Linked DNA regions of Homo sapiens: region 2 is linked to region 1. Evidence: promoter capture Hi-C in human tissues and cell types (Jung and others, 2019). All regions are on one chromosome and are shown on one strand. The core of a region is centred on a gene start or on the middle of the fragment in contact, and the rest is flanking DNA. Distances in the headings are between cores, read along the strand shown.

The links. The method cuts DNA at HindIII sites, captures the fragments that hold promoters and counts their contacts. A contact is called where the count stands out against the background at its distance.
Region 2: a fragment that was not itself captured here is called in contact with the fragment with the promoter of TRIML1 in region 1 in 2 of the 25 tissues and cell types used here (H1 embryonic stem cells and spleen).

Annotation. Positions count from the first base shown.
Region 1 is chr4:188,135,149-188,142,549 of GRCh38, forward strand. TRIML1 (tripartite motif family like 1) reads left to right here and starts at 4,293. Exons shown (of 6, transcript NM_178556.5): 1 at 4,293-4,818; 2 at 5,380-5,475; 3 at 7,104-7,334. The coding sequence starts at 4,411. The HindIII fragment of the contact is 25,840 bases long and covers 1-7,401 here.
Region 2 is chr4:188,207,659-188,214,211 of GRCh38, forward strand. No RefSeq gene overlaps it. Among named protein-coding and RNA genes, the nearest start is that of LINC02434, 51 kb to the left of the region's middle. The HindIII fragment of the contact is 9,513 bases long and covers 1-6,553 here.

The sequences.
Region 1 (7,401 bases), core at 3,043-5,542:
ACAGAGGACCCTTGAACAACCTGGGTTTGAACTCCTCAACATGGACACTTATACACGGATTTTTCTCAATAAAAGTGACACCAAGAATGCCTGCCTCTCCTGCTCAGCCTTCCACTTCCTCTACCTATCTGGCCTCTGCCACCCCTGAGACAGCGAGACCAGCCCTCCCACCCCCACCTCCTCCTCCTCAGCCTACTCAAAGTGGTAACGACAAGGGTGAAGACCTTTATGAGGATCCGCTTTCACTTAGTGAATAGATTTTCTCGTAATAACATTTTCTTTTCTCTAGCTTATTTGATAAGAATAAAATAATACATGTAACAAAAAAATATATTAATTGACTGTTTCTGTTATTGATAAGGCTTGGTCAACAGTAGACTATTAGTAGTTAATGTTCTAGGAAAGTTAAAGTGTATTTTTGACTGTGCAAGGGGTCAGCACCTGTAACCCCTGCATTGCTCAAGGGTCAATTGTATTTTTTTAATCTCGCTCTGTGCCCAGGCTGGAGTGCACCGGTGATCATGTCTCACTGCTGGCTTCGTCTCCTGGGTTCAAGTGATTCTCGTGCCTCAGCGCCGAGTAGCTGGGATTACAGGCACCCGCCATCACGCCCGGCTAATTTTTGTATTTTTGTAGAGACAGGGTTTCACCATATTGGCCAGGCTGGTCTTGAACTCCTGACCTCAGGTGATCCACCTGCCTTGGCCTCCCAAAGTGCTGGGATTACTGGGGTAAGCCACTGGGCCTGGCTAACTTTATTTTTAAAGCTAGGCTTTCAAGCAATGTATTTTTCAAATAAGCTCCCAACTAGTCCACCGCCTCATCAACAAATAAGCCCTTACTGTATCTATAAAGTTCATTTTTTTCTGCATGTGCCAACCCTGATGGCATCTGGGTGATAGTTGTGACAGTGACCCTCTTGGAGTACTCCTAGCATCACCCTCTCAGGAGAGAAAGGCCAGAGAAGAAGCTACTTGAGTTGTTGATCTCAGAAGCCGTGTCTGGTAGTGTGATTGGGTCATATATTTTGGGAAGGCTGGTCTATTCTATGAATGCATTTCATCTATGAATTAAGCCCAAGCAAAATGTTGAGAAAGATGGTAAGGAAGTCTGCCTTCCCAAGAGTGAATGTGGTCAGTGATTTCAGATGCCTGTCACACCATCACTCCATAATGACAGCTGTCTGACTTCCTTCTCACAGCAATTGGACAATGTTCATTTTTTTTTTTGAGATGGAGTCTTGCTCTGTCTCCCAGGCTGGAGTGCAGTGGAGCGATCTCGGCTCTCTGCAAGCTCCGCCTCCCGGGTTCACGCCATTCTCCTGTCTTAGTCTCCCTAGTAGCTGGGACTACAGGTTCCCACCACCACATCCGGCTAATTTTTTGTATTTTTTTAGTAGAGATGGGGTTTCACCGTGTTAGCCAGGATGGTCTAGATCTCCGGACCTCGTGATCCACCTGCCTTGGCCTCCCAAAATGCTGGGATTACAGGTGTGAGCCACCGCGCCTGGCCTGCAATGTTCATTTTATTGAGATAACTGGAAATTTTCACCCACTCACAAGTCAACAAGTGGATGCAGTATAGTGTGTTGACAAAAGAGAAAGACTGGGAGGTAGGCGCTCCAGTTTCCTAGTCCTAATCCGGCGTATGTGGTAAGTGAGTATCAGGAGATGAATTTAATTTATTCTAGCCTCAGTTTTCCTCAGCATCTGTAGAAGGTAGTTGGACTATATGATCTCTTGACTTCCAGCTAAATATAAGACTATGATTCCATAATAATATAGTTCCTCTATTCATTTATAACTCATTAACAGAAAAATCGAGCCACGTGCAAAGAATTCTTGTAGTCATCAATGAATAACACGTGGTTATTGTGTTACGATGCCTATAAAATAAAAAAAATTATCTGGAAGAGGGAAACGGGATAGAGCAGATCAGTGTGACTTGAACAGAGACTATGCCAGCCTCCCTATTCCAAATTGGAATACTGGCTCTGTGATGTGCTATAACTGTATTGTGAGGCTTATTCTAATGATTTTGGTAAATGTTAAAGACTCCTCCTGGGGTTGTGTTGAAATAACACACTGAATGGAGATGGTAGTTCATAAATTCTTTTTCTAGTGGTGGCAGTTAGTGTTATTGTAGTCTTTTTTTTTTTTTTTTTTTTTTTTTGAGATGGGATCTTTCTCTGTCTCCCAAGCTGGAGTGCAGTGGTGGGATCTTGGCTCACTGCAACCTCCACCTCTTGGGTTCAAGTGATTCTCCTGCCTCAGCCTCCCAAGTAGCTGGGATTACAGGCGTGCAACACCACACCCAGCTATTTTTACTTTTTTTTTTTTTTTTTTTGAGACAGAGTTTCGCTTTTGTTGCCCAGGCTGGAGTGCAATGGCGTGATCTCACCTCACTGCAACCTCCACCTCCTGGGTTCAAGCAATTCTTCTGTCTCAGCCTCCTGACTAGCTGGGATTACAGGCATGTGCCACCATGCCCGGCTAATTTTGTATTTTTAGTAGAGACGGAGTTTCTCCATGTTGGCCAGGCTGGTCTCGAACTCCCGACCTCAAGTGATCTGCCTGCCTCAGCCTCCCAAAGTGCTGGGATTACAGGCATGAACCACTGCACCCGGCCTAATTTTCATATTTTTAGTAGAGACGGAGTTTCACCATGTTGGCCAGGCTGGTCTTAAACTCCTGACCTCAAGTGATCCACCCACCTCGGCCTCCCAAACTGCTGGGATTACAGATGTGAGCAACCGCGCCTGGCCAAACTTTTTTTCTTTTTTTTTTTAAGACTCTTACAAGACTAACTCATAGCAATATTCTGAAGCTGTGACAAGTTAGTATCCTGGAGGCTATCTTGGTAGAGGTTTCATGATGCCACCCTGATGCCACCTCTCTTCCTCTTTACAGTAGTATAACTCTTTGCTCTTATTTTTTCATAGCTTAAATTCTCATCCTAGCAATTCACGTATGCTTTACAAGGGATGTATAGGATTGAAACATTTTGAATTAATGATTTCAGAAAGGTGAGTTTTGACTAGGAGAAAGGAAGGTGGAGGAAAAAACATTCTCAGCCAGAAAACTTCTTTTTCCCAAAGTTCAAGATAAGAAAACATCCAACATCCTGTTGGAGGTAAGTGGGAAAGAAGTAGCAGTTGGAGCCTTGAAAGTCAGAAACCAATGAACGGAACAGCCTGAGTAATGGACCCGACTCGTGGAAGGCTGCCAAGCTGGAGAGTGAGGGGACGGAGACAGAAATATGGCGTGATGAGTTCGTGGGAAGGTCAAACTCGCTGGCCTTTGAGGAAGAGCTTTTGAGGTGCAACTTCCTGGCATGCAGTGAGCAGAAGGCAGGCCAGGACAGGAGCTGACTCCCGAGCAGGGGACACAGTGAATTTGTGGCATTTGTTACCAATCTCGGAGTTCACTGTGCACAGTCTCCACACTAGGCATTTACTTTTTCATATGTCCGAAAAAATGTCTGCACACTTCATTTCTGTCCAGTAAGAACTGATAATCAGGGATTTGAAGGGGCCTAGTTTGGAAATTTTCAATGGGTGAAAATAAGTGAGCAAAATTACATTTATACTAAAATATAATTCTTTCCATCTGCTCCATAGTGGGATAGCCTCTTGAGGCAACTTCCAATTAGAATGTCATTTTAGATGCTTTCCAAGATGGCAGATGGGTGAGTACTAGGGTGTGCAGGGAAGATCAATAAACAGCTCTGGCAATTCATCGTGCGCCTAACACCAAGGAATACTTCAGTGGAAGAGCTCTCATTTTGTTGGGATGAATAAAATTAAATAAAAGTACACAGTACCCAATAAAGGAACAAAAGCTTAGGCTTTGGTCAAGCAGAACAAAAGGGGCTAATGAGAAAAGGACTATGTATTACAGTTTTCTTCTCTCAGTTCTCAACTAGGTTTTATTAGTGGAGTTCCCAAAAGATTTGGACCAAATTTCCAATTCAGATATTATTAGAGATCATCAAAACTCAAATCTCTTTACTGGTTTACACCAAATCACCCAAGCTTCCAGCCTAAAACCCACATGCTCACATGGTTCCACAGTGCTGTTTATGTACAATAACCAGTTCTCAAAATGGTAATCCTGTTAGAAGCCAGAATCCTCAGCCTCTAGCATGTGTGCTTTTCACAGAGATAAGTCTCAAAGTTTGGGGTTGGTGAGGAGCCCAGTATACAGGAGTTCCACATTAAGTCATAATTGGCTTTGTGTTGGACAGTGTATGTCAGCTGGTGAAATCAGGCACAGAAGAGATAAGGGTTTCTTGTCATAACAACATAGGAACAGGTCACCCGCGTGTTACTCAAAACTGTAGGACGGCAGTGAGGGCTTTGCTAATCCCAGAACAGAGGTGTAACCTGGCTGCATATCCAGCCTCGAGAAAATGTCTACAGCAGATCTGATGGAGAACCTCAGGGAGGAACTCACCTGTTTCATCTGCTTAGACTATTTCAGCAGCCCAGTGACCACCGAGTGTGGGCACAGCTTTTGTCTGGTGTGTCTCCTCAGGAGCTGGGAGGAACATAACACACCTTTATCTTGTCCTGAGTGCTGGAGGACCTTGGAGGGCCCGCATTTCCAGTCAAACGAGCGTCTGGGGAGGCTGGCCAGCATCGCCAGGCAGCTCCGGTCCCAGGTGCTGCAGAGCGAGGATGAGCAGGGCAGCTACGGGAGGATGCCCACCACTGCCAAGGCGCTCTCCGATGACGAGCAGGGTGGAAGCGCCTTCGTAGCCCAGAGCCATGGTGCAAACAGAGTGCATCTCTCCAGCGAGGCTGAGGAGCATCACAGAGTAAGACAGCTGCTCAGCATGAACCCCACGACTCATCGCAGCTAACTCCGTTAGCTTTCCTGACGTTTCCTAACGTCCTCTGTGGGGGACAGTCACGAGGGCCCATCTGAGCACCACATCACAAACTGGCGTGGGTCCAGTTTACACCCTTTTTTTTCCCTTTTTTTGTTTTTGAGACAGAGTTTTGCTCTGTTGCCCAGGCTGGAGTGCAGCAGTGCGATCTCAGTCACTGCAACCTCCGCCTCCCAGGTTCACGCCATTCTCCTGCCTCAGCCTCCCCAGTAGCTGGGACTACAGTCACCCACCACCACGCCCGGCTAATTTTTTGTATTTTTAATAGAGACGGGGTTTCACCATGTTGGCCAGGCTGGTCTTGAACTCCTGACCTCAGGTGATCCGCCTGCCTCGGCCTCCCAAAGTGCTGGGATTACAGGCGTGAGGCGCCGCACCCAGCCTGCCCTTTGTTTTAGAGGCCTAGGACTGCGCAGTTACTGGTCTTCAAAGCCCCTTCATGACCTGGGACTCTGCTCATTTGCCAGAAAGGGTTTGTTTCTATTGCAGGAGAAACTCCAGGAAATCCTGAATCTTTTGCGTGTAAGGAGAAAGGAAGCTCAGGCTGTACTAACCCATGAGAAGGAGAGAGTGAAACTGTGCCAGGTCGGTGTCTGTCTGACTTTTGCTGCTTGTATATGACCCCATAAGGGGGACTAAAGGGAAATTTAGTGAAATATCAGGAAAAAAAAAAGACAAATTTTTCCAGTCTCACCTCTAAAATATGCAGTTTCCTTGCATTGGGCTGCCTTCTTCTGAGCGTCCTCGTGGGAGTCTCAAGGCTCAGCTGCAATTCGCCCCCTCTAGGAGCCTCCTTTGCATAACTAGACAACGCTGTGGCTTCCTCTATGATGGCTCTGGTAGAATTATTTAAAACACAAGTGATACTTATAGACATGTAACATGAGACGGAAAGCGATTTTAAAAAGAAATATCTCAAAAACATGGAGGGGAAAATGCAAATTAAAAAAAATAAAGAGACAGAGATATAAAAGCAAAATAGTGGTTTAAATGATACCTGACAAGTCCTCAAGGTTGGTCACGGACTTGGATTTGAGCTCTCCAGCAGTCAAAGCAAAGGACTAAATATCAAATTATATATTTTTTAAAACCATGTATCTGATTCTCCCAATAGACTTTGAAATCTGTTTTTTTTTTTTTTTTTTTGGAGATGGAGTCTCTCTCTGTCGCCCAGGCTGGAGTGCAGTGGCGCGATCCCGGCTCACTGCAACCTCCACCTCCCGGGTTCAAGTGATTCTCCTGCCTCAGCCTTCTGAGTAGCTGGGATTACAGACGTGTGCCACCATGCCCAGCTAATTTTGTATATTTGTGGAGATGGGGTTTTACCATGTTAGCCAGGCTGATCTCGAACTCCCGACCTCAGGTAATCCACCTGTCTCGGTCTCCCAAAGTGCTGGGATTACAGGTGTGAGCCACCGTGCTTGGCCGTAGACTTTGAATTCTTAAGTGAGAGTATTTGCCATGTATGTTTCTGTTCCTTTTTGGTTATCTGACACCTACTTTCATTGAATAAATATTTGTTGAATAAATGAACACACATTTTTCATAATTTTTCTTAATTTTGTTTTATTTGTATCATAGTCCTGATCACTACTTGTCATATTTCTTACTCATTTTTGGTTTTCTCCACTAGAACGACCGCCTCCTGGGAATGGAGATTTTGGTTTTGTTTACTATTGTATCTATAGCGCACATACCTCCGAAAACATCAACCTCTACACCCAGCGCATCAACAGATTAAATGTATTATATGTTGGATTTCAGGAATTGTTGCCATGAAACTCTAGGACTTGGCCAGGCATGGTGGCCCACACCTGTAATCCCAGCACTTTGGGAGGCTGAGGAGGGTGGGTCACCCGGTCAAGAGACTTGAGACAATCCTGACCAACATGGTGAAACCCCATCTTTACTAAAAATACAAAAATTAGCTGGGCGTGGTGGCACACTCCTAGACTATAGTCCCAGCTACTCAGGAGGCTGAGGCAGGAGAATCATTTGAACTCAGGAGGCAGAGGTTGCAGTGAGCCGAGATTGCGCCACTGCACTTCAGACTGGCGACAGAGTGAGACTCCATCTCAAAAAAAAAAAAAAAAAGAAAGAAAGAAACTCTAGGACTTGTAAGGATTAAAAATCTACAGACAAGGGCATTTCTCTTACTAACTTTATCTCGTGTGTGTGTGTGTGTGTGTGTGTGTGTGTGTGTGTTTTGGCAGGAAGAAACAAAGACTTGTAAACAGGTTGTTGTGTCAGAATACATGAAAATGCACCAGTTCCTGAAGGAAGAGGAGCAGCTGCAACTCCAGCTACTAGAACAGGAAGAGAAAGAGAACATGAGGAAGCTGAGGAACAATGAGATCAAACTGACCCAGCAAATCAGAAGCCTAAGCAAAATGATCGCACAGATTGAGTCCTCAAGTCAAAGCTCGGCTTTCGAATCTCTTGAGGTGAGAATAACATTCATGAGAGTAATGGGAAAAATTATAGTAACTCATAGTACTTCAAGCCATAGGA
Region 2 (6,553 bases), core at 2,351-4,850, 72 kb after region 1:
ATTTTTGCTCAGTGTGGTGGAAGTAGTTTAAATAAATACTAGAATATGGCCAGACACAGTGGCTCACACCTGTAATTCCAGCACTTTGGGAAGCCAAGGTGGGCGGATCACGAGGTCAGGAGATTAGGACCATCCTGGCCAACATGGTGAAACCCCGTCTCTACTAAAAATACAAAAAACTAGCCGGGTGTGGTGGTGGGCGCCTGTGGTCCCAGCTACTCCGGAGGCTGAGGCAGAGCGAGACTCCATGCCCCCACAAAAAAGTGTGTGTGTGTGTGTGTATATATACACACACATACACTTTATGTTTACATATTTATATTTATTTAGTTTATATATATATAAACTAGAAAATAGAGAGATAATTAATGAAGAGAAATGGTAGTTTGGAAGAAACAGAAAAAAAACATAAAAGTAGGCTGGGTGCAGTGGTTCACACCTGTAATTAGCATTTTAGGAGCGCGAGGAACAGCTGAGGCCAGGAGTTCGAGACCAGCCTGATGCAGACGGTGAAACCCCATCTCTACTAAAATACAAAAATTCAAAAATTAGCCAGGCATGGTGGCGGGCACCTGTAGTCCCAGCTATTCAGGAGGCTGAGGCAGAAGAGTCTCTTGAACATGGGAGACAGAGATTACAATGAGCTGAGATCGCGCCACGGCACTCCAGCCTGGGTGACAGAGCGAGACTCCATCTCAAAAATAAAAATAAAATAAAATACTAGAATAATTGATAGAAGGATGTTTTTGTGACCAGAAATATGCTATAGAACTGAATTCTTCTCTATATCAATTAGCCTGTTGGAAAATTGGTTTCATTATTCCAAGAACCTATTGAGGAGGTCTAAGGTCTCCTCCTCTATTGAGGAGGTCTAAGTGAGGCCTTACTGTCCTATTAACTAAAGTCTGTGTTTTATTCTGACATCTTTAGTTTTACCTGATGTCTTTTTCAGTTCCAGGATCCCACCTTGCCCTGAGTTGTCACGCCCCGCAGGCTCTCCTTGGCTGGGGCTGTTTCTCAGATTTTCCTTGTTTTCGAGGACCTTGACAGTTTTGAGGAGTACTGGTCAATCATTCTGCAGGATGCCCTCTGTTGAAATTTATCTGATGTTCTTCTCATCATTTGATCGGTATTACGAGTTCTGGAGAGGAAGACAAGAGCGGCAAAGCGGCGTTCCTCTCGCCTCACATCAGAGGTGCATACTACAGGATTCCTCACAGTGGATGTTGACCTCGATCCCCTGCCGAGAAGCGTTGGTTAGGTTTCTTCATTGCAGACCCACTCCCCCCACCCCACACTGAACTCCTCAGAGGGAGGTCACTGTGTGCAGCTCACACGTACGGAGCAGTGACTCACGCTTCCCTTCTGCAGGTGCAGTGTCCATCGATTGCTAGGAATCCTTCTGTTAAGGAGATTTGTCTCTTCTCCCCATTCATTTATTTACTTGTGCTGTGCAGTCATTTATTTATGTTGGTGGAGACTCACTCCCTGCCCTTTCCGAAGTGCTCTGTGTTTAGGTGATAAATTACGTACCCATTATCTTTGTTTATCACCCACAGCTCCAGCTCATCTTACTTCTTACTTTTGTTTTGCTTTGGCCTCAGATTTGCCACTTATATTACATTTTCATGGTTGTGCTTGTGGCACATTCCGTGTCGCGTGGTGCAATCCTGGAATATTGTGGGGAATACATAATTCTGTAGGTCACGCCTGAGTACGGGAAAGAGAAGTGCACGGAAGTGTGTATGGTGGTCTCATGCTGCACAGGTGTGGCAGCAGCCTTGTGTCTCTGGGTATCAGAAGTAATACATGGAGTAGCATAAATTGGAACCATGCAAAGAAATTTATTTACGAATCGTGTGGCCGGGCACGGTGGCTCACGCCTGTAATCCCAGCACTTTGGGAGGCCGAGGTGGGCAGATCACGAGGTCAGGAGATCGAGACCATCCTGGCTAACATGGTGAAACCCCGTCTCTACTAAAAATACAAAAATTAGCCGGGCGTGGTGGCGGGCGCCTGTAGTCCCAGCTACTCCGGAGGCTGAGGCAGGAGAATGGGGTGAACCTGGGAGGCGGAGCTTGCAGTGAGCCGAGATCGCCCCACTGCACTCCAGCCTGGCAACAGAGCGAGATTCCATCTGAAAAAAAAAAAAAAAACAACAACAAAAAACTAGAATCATGTACTTTCAGCTTTGCTATCAGTCATCTCACCCTTGGAAAGCCAGAATAAGTTACTCTGGGCAATGTCAAGGAAGATTTAATTTCAGATTGATGTTGTTTCCTCAGACAGTCCATTCTTCTTTCCTTTCAGTCAGTCTCACAGGCGTTTCCCCAAACAAACATCCCTGCTTGCAACTGTATCTCCTAACACAACCGATCACAAGAGCACGCAGCCAAGCTGAGGGCAGAATACGGATGCGTGCATCCTATTCACTAACCTGCTAAGGCACTCATGCTGGATAAGACCCTCACATCTTCCCCCATTCCTAAATCCCTAATGCATCTGTCCCCCCAATCTTAGCAAGCTTAATGCTTAAAATAAACAGTTTTATGTAGAAAGTTATCCCATTGACTTTTCTGGTCTTCTCCTCTACAAAGAAACTTGATATAAACATTTGTGGATAGCTTTTTCAATGAGCATATACTTTTATCTTTCTTGGATAAATACCTAAAATTGGCTGGGTCATACGGTAGGTGTGTATTTAACTTTGTAAGAAATCGCCAAACTCTTTTCCAAAGTTCCGTGTATTCGACATTCCTACTACCAGCATGTGAGAGTTTTAGTCCCTCCACATACTGGGCAACACTTGGTACAGTCAGTTGTTTTAGCTTTAGACATGCTAGTGGGTGTGCAGTTGTATCTCATTGCAGTTTTACCAAATGGCTTTTTTGGTGATGTGTAATATAGTCTGATGGAACTCTTTCAACTTCCTTATTTTTTAAAATTGATACATAATAATCATACCCATATATGGGGTACATGTGATTATTTATTTATTTATTATTTATTTTTTTTTTTTAGACAGAGTCTCGCCCTATCTCCAGGCTGGAGTGCAGTGGCGCCATCTGGACTCACTGCAACCTCCGCCTCCCAGGTTCAAGTGATTCTCCTGCCTCAGCCTCCTGAGTAGCTGGGATTACAGGCGTCCCCCAACACGCCCAGCTAATTTTTGCATTTTTAGTAGAGACGGGGTTTCACCGTATTGGCCAGGATAGTCTGGATCTTCTGACATAGTGATCTGCCCGCCTCGGCCTCCCAAAGTGCTGGGATTACAGGTGGGAGCCACCGTGCCTGGCCATAGGTGATATTTTGATCTCTGCATACAATGCAGTGAACATGTCAGGATACCTATCATCGCAAACCTCATTTCTTTGTGTTGGAACATTTTATTTATTTATTTATTTATTTATTTATTTATTTATTTATTTATTTTTTTTTTTGAGACGGAGTCTCGCTCTGTCGCCCAGGCTGGAGTGCAGTGGCGCAATCTCAGCTCACTGCAGGCTCCGCCTTCTGGGTTCACGCCATTCTCCTGCCTCAGCCTCCCGAGTAGCTGGGACTACAGGCGCCCACCACCACGCCCGGCTAATTTTTTGTATTTTAGTAAAGACGGGGTTTCACCATGTTAGCCAGGATGGTCTTGATCTTCTGACCTCGTGATCCGCCCGCCTCGGCCTCCCAAAGTGCTGGGATTACAGGCGTGAGCCACTGTGCCCGGCCGTTGAGAACATTTTAAATCTAGTTATTCTGAAATATACAATAAATTATTGTTAACTACTGTTACTCTACTGTGCTATTGAACACTAGAACTTATGCCTTCTGTCTAATTATGTTTGTACATGTTAAGCAACCTCTCTTCATCCTTCTCCGCCAGTTCCCAGCCCCTGGTGACCTGCATTCTGCTCTCTCTTTCAATGAGATCAACTTTTTAAGCTCCCACATATGAGTGAGAACGTATTTGTGTTTCTGTGCCTGGCTTATTTCCCTTCACATAAAGTCCTCCAGGCTCATCCATGTTGCCGTGAATGACAGGACATCATTCTTCTTATGGCTGAATAGTATTCCATTATATATATTTACCACATTTAAAAAATGAATTTAGTTTATAAATTGTCATAAATTTAACAAATTTTAAATCTGTTCATTTATTTAACAAACATGTATTAAGTCTTTTATATGCCAAGCTCTGTGTTAATGCGGCATTGGTTATACAAAGATGAATTAGATATTTATTTTTGTTTTGGTAAAGTTTGCAGTCTAGGAGCAGATGTGTTGGACATGTTCAAAGTCAAATTACAGTATATTGAGGTGTGAACTAGGTGGAAATTTGGGTTTTGAAAGTGAAAATAAGGAAAACATAAAAACATGAAAGGATCTCAATATTAGGTTATATAGAGAGAGGGGAGGCCAAGGAAAGAAAGTGGGAAGTAGAAACTGGAGATTGGAGGAAACTAGGAGAGAGAAAATTCTGAAGATTTCAAAAGAAGAAAGATTCTCAAAGCAAGGCATGGTTAACAAATACAAATCTGAGGAGATGCCTACTGGTGTGAGATCTGAAATGAACACCTTGGGTTTGGAAAAGGGAGTCCACAAATGATCTTAATATGAGTATTTTTTTGTGTTGTAATAAAGGTGAAAGTCTTTTATCTAGCAGTAAGCTAGAAAACTTTTACTGATTTTTAAACAGAAATTCTCTAGAAGGTTTTGATTTTTTTCTTTCTGTAGGTCACATATTTTACTGTTACTTTCATTCTCAACATTTCTAATACAAATACTATATATATATATATTTCTTTTTTTTTTTGTGAGATGGAGTTTTGCTCTTGTCGCTCAGGATGGAGTGCAATGGCGCGATCTTTGTTCACTACAACTTCCGCCTCAGCCTCCCAGGTTCAAGCGATTCTCCTGCCTCAGCCCCCTAAGTAGCTGAGATTACAGGCACCTGCCACCACGCCCAGGTAATTTTTGTATTTTTAGTAGAGACGGGGTTTTGCCATGTTGGTCAGGCTGGTCTCGAACTCCTGACCTCAGGTGATCTACCTGCCTCGGCCTCCTGAAGTGCTGGGATTACAGGCATAAGCCACAGCGCCCGGCCAAATACAATATTAATTTGGATTATATTTAGCTGTGTGTTGCTGACAGTCATACACACTATTGAGATTTTATTTATTTTATATCATTTTCTTTTTGTTAAAGTCAATTTTAGAATTCGTATAGCATTTTTGAATTTTTGTTGTTGTTGTTATCAAACAACAATGTTTCGTTCATTTGTTTTTCACTATTTGTTCCCAGTGTTTTTGGTTATATCTAAGTGTATCGTCTGAATTCTTAAAACACTAACATTTGTGGCAGTTGTTGCCGTACTGATTTCTTCCCAGTTTTAAAAAGAATGACTGGGATTTTGGAGGAAGTTTAACATTAACTTTTAGTTTAAAATAATTTTGTTTCATCAGAAGAGAAACTATTTTTTCCTTTTTCAAAATATTTAAATTGGGAACGAATATTGTTCTTTTAAAAAATATTCTTCTGGCCGGTTGCGGTGGCTCACGCCTGTAATCCCAGCACTTTGGGAGGCCTAGGCGGGTGGATCACGAGGTTAGGAGATCGAGACCATCCTGGCTAACACGGTGAAACCCCGTCTCTACTAAAAATTAAAAAAGTAGCCGGGCGTGGTGGCGGGTGCCTGTGATCCCAGCTACTCAGGAGGCTGAGGCAGTAGAATTGCTTGAACCCTGGAGGCAGAGGTTGTAGTGAGCCGAGATCGCACCACTACACCCCACCCTGGGAAACAGAGCGAGACTGCATCTCCAAAATATATATATTTTTCTGATATTAGTTGAAAGTATATGTGTGTGTGTGTGTGTATTGTGTGTGTGTGTGTATATATATATTTGTTTTCTTCTTTCAGTCTTTTTAACCTATGGTAATGGTGTCTATTCAGATTGCTCTATTCTCACTCAGCTGTAGATGCTTAAGACCGTCAAGCTCTCTATCTTGCCCTGTTCGAGTGGAGGCAGCGTAGGAGTGGATTTGGACCATTCCCGGTGTCTGAAACGATTGTTATTCATCCAGCGTGCCCGCAGTGAACTTCCGGCGTGTATGTTCTTTCCCTGGCCCTCTGCTTCTTACTCTCTGTAGTAGAGTGTAGCAGATCCTGTTTGTGACTTGTCCATATTCTTTTGGCCCACTGTGGAGGTCTGATGCAGCTTGGTGACAACTCCTTCTTCGTCCACCTCCATCTCTCAGAATGATGGTGTGAGGCTTCCTGAAATACACCTCACAGCTTATCTGAAAAGCTCCCCAATAAACTATTTGAACCCAATTCTTGCCTCAGAGTTTCCAGTTGAAAAAACACAGACCAAGACAGTGGCTATGGTTTTGCTTTCCTGAGTGCACGTTGATTTCTCTTAGGAGTACCAGATCCTGCCTGGAACCACGCTCACCTGGCTGTAGTCTGAAGTCTTCCATTCTTTTATATTGACCACATTTTCCATTTCTACTTTCCTCTGACTGATCCCACTTCCCAGAAAACCCACAGAGCAGATCCTGTTTG